2 separate regions of the Homo sapiens genome follow, and region 2 is linked to region 1. Evidence: promoter capture Hi-C in human tissues and cell types (Jung and others, 2019). All regions are on one chromosome and are shown on one strand. The core of a region is centred on a gene start or on the middle of the fragment in contact, and the rest is flanking DNA. Distances in the headings are between cores, read along the strand shown. Region 1 holds the start of LRRC3B (leucine rich repeat containing 3B). Region 2 overlaps TOP2B (DNA topoisomerase II beta).

Region 1 (3,396 bases), core at 523-3,022:
AAAAAAAAAAACTTTAAACCGCAATCTTTTAAATCACAGTATCATAACGTCTAAGAGACAGAAGATATCTTAAGAGTCATTTAGTCTAATCTCCTGCATTATGGACATACTTTTTCATGCAGCATTCCTGATCTGAGGTATCTATCGTGCAATTTGTAGAAGGTGGGACAGAAAACAAACAAACAAACAAACAAATCTTAAATATCCTTAAACTACAAAGCAATTTTCTTCACCTCTGAGCAATGTAACACTGTTCAAACTGTTCTAAAATGCATCCAGAATAAGAGTGCTTCAATAGAAATGAGGAAACTTTGGCAGGCTTTCAACATACTTGACACAGGTCAAGAAATAATCAAGATTTTTTGGTCATTCTCCACTTGGAATGGGTTTGCTCTAGGTGTTGGCAGCTGAACATACATGTCTTGCTCTAGGCAGTTGCTTAGCAGTTTGGTTTTCTTTTGCTTTTGGGAATTCAGGAAACAGAGGTGGGTGGTCAGTGGGAGAAGGTTGATTGTCTAGAGACCAAAATGAATTAAATACTTTATTACCTTTCCAGTAAAGGGGCTGTGAGTCTAACTGTATGTGTGGTTCCCTCCACCACACCCTAAATCAAAAGTTCCATCCCTGGAGTCTCTTTAATTCTAGAGACACTGAGATTTAGCTCATACAGAAGGAGAAAATGACCTTCAACTGGATAAGCTTTCCTTGAGTACCCATTAGATACAAAACACTGCTGGATGTTGCAGTGAGAACAAACAAACAAAAAGCACAGGGAATACTCATATGTGAGTGAAGAGATAAATCTATAAATATATAAGTTCCGCAAGTGATTGGCAAATAAAATTCTGAGAGGGCAAAGAGAGGGGAAAGATTTCTGCCTCGAGTCAGAGGACTGGGGTAGCGGAAAAAAGCTTTAGAAAAAAAGGTGGTATTTGTAGAGTCTGGAGAGGCGGGTTCCTCTGCCCCAAACTGGTGTCTACTGCAGATATGGTAAATAATTAAAATCATGAAATAAGAACATCACTAAAACCATTAATTTGACTTACTCTTAAAACACACGCGCGCACGCGAGCGCGCTCGCACACACACACACTGGCGTGCGCGCGCTTTTTTAAGGGGCCTATAGACTCCATTTCGGCTGCAGGTTAAAGTCATCCCAGGAAGGAGAAAGGAAAATTGAATTCCACCTTCTTCTGATTTAGAAAGCTAGATTGGTTGAGGATCGGGATCAGGGACCACAACTCAACCCCGAAACTTTGGGCTTCCAGAACTGCAGGGGAAACTGATTCTGAGATCAGACAACGGACCCTGGGGCGGGAGGGGGGTACCTTATTCATAACCCTCCCTCACAATAGCGGAGCACAGTACTCAGCACCCAGTAAACACTCATTTGTCGAATTGATTTTAAGCCTCCGCTTTTCCCCCAAGGAGGGCAATCAATCCCTTGCACGTTTTGCTCCTTTCACCAGCTTAATTCAGCTCTGATCTCAGTAGTTAGAAAAATAGGAGAAAGAATGGGGCCATAGCCTGCTGCAAGTAGAGCTGTGTAAGGGGGTGCGAGGAAGGCAGGCGAGAGCAGCAGAGGGAGTTAATACTCCTACCTCAGCTGGTCTCCGGCAGCCAACGCTCAGCCCCCGCCTCCTCTCTCCATTCCGGACCCCGCAACCGCGAGGCGAGAGAGCAGCGCCGGCGAGGCACTGGCTGGGCTCTGACTGTCACGTTAATTCCCTGCTGCTTTTTCTAGTCCCCAGCCGCCTCGCCCCTCCTCCCTCATTCCCAGCCTGGGTTTGGAGGCGATTTCCCTCTATTGACTGAGCCGACTGCATCTCTGGGCAAGCGGCGCTTTGCCTCTCTCCTGTCTTTGTCTGCTCTTCCTGCAAGGCTACGGCGCCTGGAGCAGGGTCTGCAGCGGCCGCCGCAGCAACGCGAGCCAAGTCGTGCCCCGCACGGCCGCCCGGGGCCGCACCCTCGCTCGGTGGCGGCGCCCGAAGACGCCAGCCGCGCCACGCACTGCCTGCGTCCCGCGCCCCAGCCGCCGCGCACCAACGCCGCCGCCTTCGCCGGGAGCCAAGCCCGCCGGGCCGGCCCGGTCCCAGGTGGGCAGCTCGGCTTGCAGCTGGTTGGAGGTGGCGGCCGCTGCAGCCCTGGCAGCGGGCACACCCCTAAGCATACGCACCCAACGCCTCCTCCCTGAGCCACGAGGATGGAGCAGCCACCCCGGCCCGGGACTGGCGCAAGGTAAGGTGCAGCCGCCTGTTGCTTTTCGCAGAGCGCGGGATCATCCCTCTGCCCGGGTACCTAGGCCGTCCCTCCAAGGAACAAGTAGAGGAGAACTATTACACCAGTTCTAAGCCGTGCCTGTCTAAGCCTCCCTGATCCCTTTTGCGCAGACCCTGGGAGAGACCTCCTCCTGGAGAGAGAGAGTCGACCCTCTTCGCTCCTGTTCAGCCGGCTGCTATACAATAGTCTGCAAACTTTTGTGACCCCTTCCCTGCGCGGTGCTCACCCCGTGCTGTGCAACTTGCAGGTTTAGTTCTTGCCCTTCCCCCAGCCCCTCTTGCCATATGCATCTGCCCATTTCTCTCTGTGTGTTCTTGCCAGTCGACTTTTCACTCCCCGCAGCTCTGGCTCCTGAGGCGAGGGTTTGGGACCCAGCAGTGCTCGTCCTGCCTCTAGGAGCTGGGTAGGGACAGAGAAGGTGAAATAAGAGAGGTGGGACATGGAGGATGGCTGCGGCCACCCCTGAAGCTTCGTCCAGCGCGATGGGAGTCAGTCCATCCTTGCACACGCCACCCCCAACTCGGCAATGAAACCTTTGGAGTGGCTTGCGGCTGTGCGCCGTGGGAACTGCAAGTGCAGATATGGGTGGGTGAAGTAAGTGGCTCAGGGAGGGAAAGGCTGCTCGTGCGGTGGAGGAGGAAGCTGAGGGTCGGGTAGATCTGCCCACGGTTGAGGGAAATGAAAAGGTACTGCTAATGTGGGCGAGCGGCCAGCCCTGAGAGGCCATCTGACGAAGAGGAAAAGGGATTTGAGTCCGGAGGGCGCTGGCCTGGGTATGTAAATACAGATGGGGGAGGGGCTGGGTACCTGGGGGCGCGTGGAGACAAGGAATGGAGCCCCGGAATGCCGGGCCCTTGGGTACTTGGGAAGGCAGGCTGCTGAGTGCCTGGGATGGGGCGATCTTCCTCCCCAGAAGCAAACAAACCTCCCCGCGAGAATCTGAATGCGTTGGCATCTTGGGTGGTGACTGAATGGTCAGATCGTGGACTAGGGATGCTTCTCCAAGCTCTAAGAGGACCATAGTCTGCTCTCTTCTCTGGCACCCGCTTGCTTCTACGCTCCTTCACCTCTGCAGCCAGGTCGGTAGACCCACGCCCACCTTCCCTGCCAGGCACT
Region 2 (3,396 bases), core at 411-2,910, 970 kb before region 1:
CATATTGTCCAGGATGGTCTTAAACTCCTGGCCGCAAGCGATTCTCCTGCATTGGCCTCCCAAAGTGCTGGGATTACAGGCAGGAGCCACCATGCCTGACCCAACAGCACATTAAAAGGATTACACACAATAAGCAAATGGGATTTATACTTGAAATGCAAGGATGTTTCCAAATATGAAAACAAATCATTGTACTACACTATATTAACAAAATGAAGGGCAAAAAACACATTATCATCTCAATTGATGTGCAAAAAGCATTTGACAAAATTCAACACACTTTCCTGATAAAAACACATAACAAACTAGAAATAGAAAGAAAACACCTCAATATAATAAAAGCAATACACACAAAGCCAACAGCTAACAGCACATATACTGGTGAAAGACTAAAAACTTTTCCTCTAAGATCAGGAGGAACAAGGCAAGGATGCCCAATATTATCAATATTCAAGATAGTATTAGAAGTCCTAGTCAGAGCAATTAAGACAAGAAAAGGAAATAAAAGGCATAGAAATTGGAAAAGAAGTAGAATTATGCTCACAAATGGCATAATCTTATAGTAGATAACCCAAAAGATTCCACAGAAAAACTATTACAACTAATAAATGATTTCAGCAAGTTGCAGGATACAAAAATTGGTTATGTTTTCATGCAGTAACCATGACCAATCAAAAAAGGAAATTATGAAAACAATCCCATTTACTATAGCATCAAAAAGGATAAACTACCACAGAGTAAACTTAACCAAAGAGGTGAGAATAATGTCAAAATACAAAACATTGTTAAAAGAAATGAAAAAAAGATACCAATAAATGGAAGGGCATTCCATTCTCATGGATTTAAAAGCTTAAAATATTGTTAAAATGTCCAAACTATCCAAAGTGATCTACAGATTCAATGCCATTCCTACCAAAATCCCAATGGTATTTTTTGCAGAAATACAAAAAAAAATCTAAAATTCATATGGAATCTCAAGAGGACCCATAGAGCTAAATCAGTCTTTAATCAGAAGAATAAAGCTAAAGGCCTCACACCTCCTGATTTCAAAACCTGATTTTACTACAGAACAACAGAAATCTAAAACAGTGTGGCACTGGCATACAGACAGAAGAGAGAGCACAGAAATAAACCCTTACATAAAAGGCCAAATGATTTTTCACAAGAATGCCAAGACTACACAGTGGGGAAAGGACAGTCTCTTCAACAAATGGTGCTGGGAAAACTGGATAACAAGCAAAAGAATGAAGTTGGACTCTCATGCCACATACAAAAATTAACATAGATTAAAGACCTAAAAGTAATACCTAAAACTCTGAAACTCCTAGAAGGAAACATAAAGGAAAACCTTTGAGACACTGGATTTGGCAATGATTTCATGGATATGGCACCAAAATCACAGGCAACAAAAGCAAAAATAGACAAACAGGACACCAAACTTAAGAATTTCTGTGCACCAAAGAAAACAACTGACAGAGTGAAAAGGCAGCGTATGGAATGGAGAAAATATCTGTAAACCATCAAATGGTTAATATCCAAAATAGATAAGGAGCTTCTATAACTCGACAATAACAAAATAACCCCATTCAAATGGATAAAGGATTTCAATAGACAATTCTCCAAATAAGATATGCAAATGGTCAACAGCATATGAAAAGATAATCAACATTACTAATAAGAGAAATGAAAATCAAAACCACAATAAGATATCACCTCACACCTATTAAGACAGCCATCAGAAAATAACTGTTGGTAAGGATGTGGAGAAACTGGAACATTTCTACACTGTTGGTGAGAATATAAAATGCTAGAAAAATGCTACAGCCATTATGGAAATAGTGTGGAGGTTCCTCAAAAAATTAAAAATAGAATTACTATATGATCCAGCAATCCCACTTTTGGGTATATATCCAAAAGAATTCAAAGCAAAATCTCAAAGAGATATTTGCACACCCATGTTCATCACGGTATTATTCATAATAGCCAAAAGGCGAGGCAACCCAAATGTTCACTGGTGTATGAATGGATTTTTAAAATGCGTATATAGATACAATGGAGTATTATGCAGCCTCAAAAAACATGGAAATCTTGTCATGTGCTATAACATGGATGAACCTCAAGGATATTATGCTAAACAAAATAAGCCAGTCACAAAGGACAAATACTGTATGATTACAATCATATAAAGTATCCACAGTAATCAAAATCATAGAAACAGAAAGTAGAAAGGTGGTTAACCAAGGGCTGGGGGGAGAGGGAATTAGTGTTTAGTAGATATAGTTTCAGTTTGGGAAAATGAAATACTTCTAGAGATCTGTTGCTTAACAATGTAAATATATTTAACACTACCGAACTCTACACTTAATGGCTAAGACAGTAAATTTAATGTTGTATTTTTTTACAACAAAAAAAATTGAACATGTGAAATGTAGATGACTTTGTCTAATATTATTTGTAATTTTCTCTAGGAAGAACATAGAAATACTGTAAAATAAGTGTGATGAATGTGTGACAATACACTTTTTTCTAAATATCATATGACAACTATTGAGGAAAGAAAAAGATATACCATTCTATTTAAAGTCAGGAAAAGCCTTAAGGGATACACATTATTTATAGAATACAATGGAAGTCATTTGCAGATATTTCAAATCAACTGCCAATTATAATATCAAACAACTTATAAAACCTAGGGCATGGTGCCATAGGCCTGTCGTCCCAGCTACTCTGGAGTCTGAGACCGGAGGATCAATCCCCTGAGCCCAGGAATTTGAGACCAGCCTGGGTGATAGCAAGCCTCCATCACAAAAATAAATAAATAAATAAATAGATAAAAAACAAACAAAAATCCTTAATATAAACCCTTAAACTTGGACGTTTCAATGAGTAAATAAGTCTATAATTACTATACTAAAAATAATTGGTGTTAATCTTTTATTGCTCTAGTTTTTATAGAAAATTTATATTAGTAAAGATAATCAAGTATGTTTAAATTAGTAGTTTATCAAAATGGCACTGTTTAGTGGGCATTACAAAGGAGTATATATAAAACATGAGCCCATTTTTGTCAGAAAAAAATTATGCATAATATATGCATGCATAGGAAAAAATGTGAAATATGCCCAACAGAATATCAATAAAAATTATCTATAGAGTAGAAATACATGCCACTTTTATCTTTTCTACACCTTTTCTAAATTTCTACAATGAATGCATAAAGAAATATGTTAAAGGCTTATTAACCCAAGTATGTGAAAACATAATTAAGCTAGAATAAAACTGAAGGTTTCTTTTCCTAGAGGCAATGTTTACACCTATTTATTACTTCTGCAACCCCAACTTTCTCACTAGAGGCTATGCAAAAACAAAATCAAAATACACAAATAAGATTGGCAG

The links. The method cuts DNA at HindIII sites, captures the fragments that hold promoters and counts their contacts. A contact is called where the count stands out against the background at its distance.
Region 2: a contact is called between a fragment that was not itself captured here and the fragment with the promoter of LRRC3B in region 1, in 2 of the 25 tissues and cell types used here (dorsolateral prefrontal cortex and thymus).

Annotation. Positions count from the first base shown.
Region 1 is chr3:26,621,000-26,624,395 of GRCh38, forward strand. It overlaps LRRC3B (leucine rich repeat containing 3B), which reads left to right and starts at 1,773. Exons shown (of 2, transcript NM_052953.4): 1 at 1,773-2,238. LRRC3B-AS1 (LRRC3B antisense RNA 1) reads right to left here and starts at 1,764. Exons shown (of 4, transcript NR_183726.1): 1 at 1,602-1,764. RefSeq lists enhancers at 1,107-1,622, 3,215-3,396. The HindIII fragment of the contact is 7,905 bases long and covers 1-3,396 here.
Region 2 is chr3:25,653,629-25,657,024 of GRCh38, forward strand. All of the region lies in intron 1 of TOP2B (DNA topoisomerase II beta), which reads right to left. Among named protein-coding and RNA genes, the nearest start is that of TOP2B, 9.6 kb to the right of the region's middle. The HindIII fragment of the contact is 5,215 bases long and covers 1-3,396 here.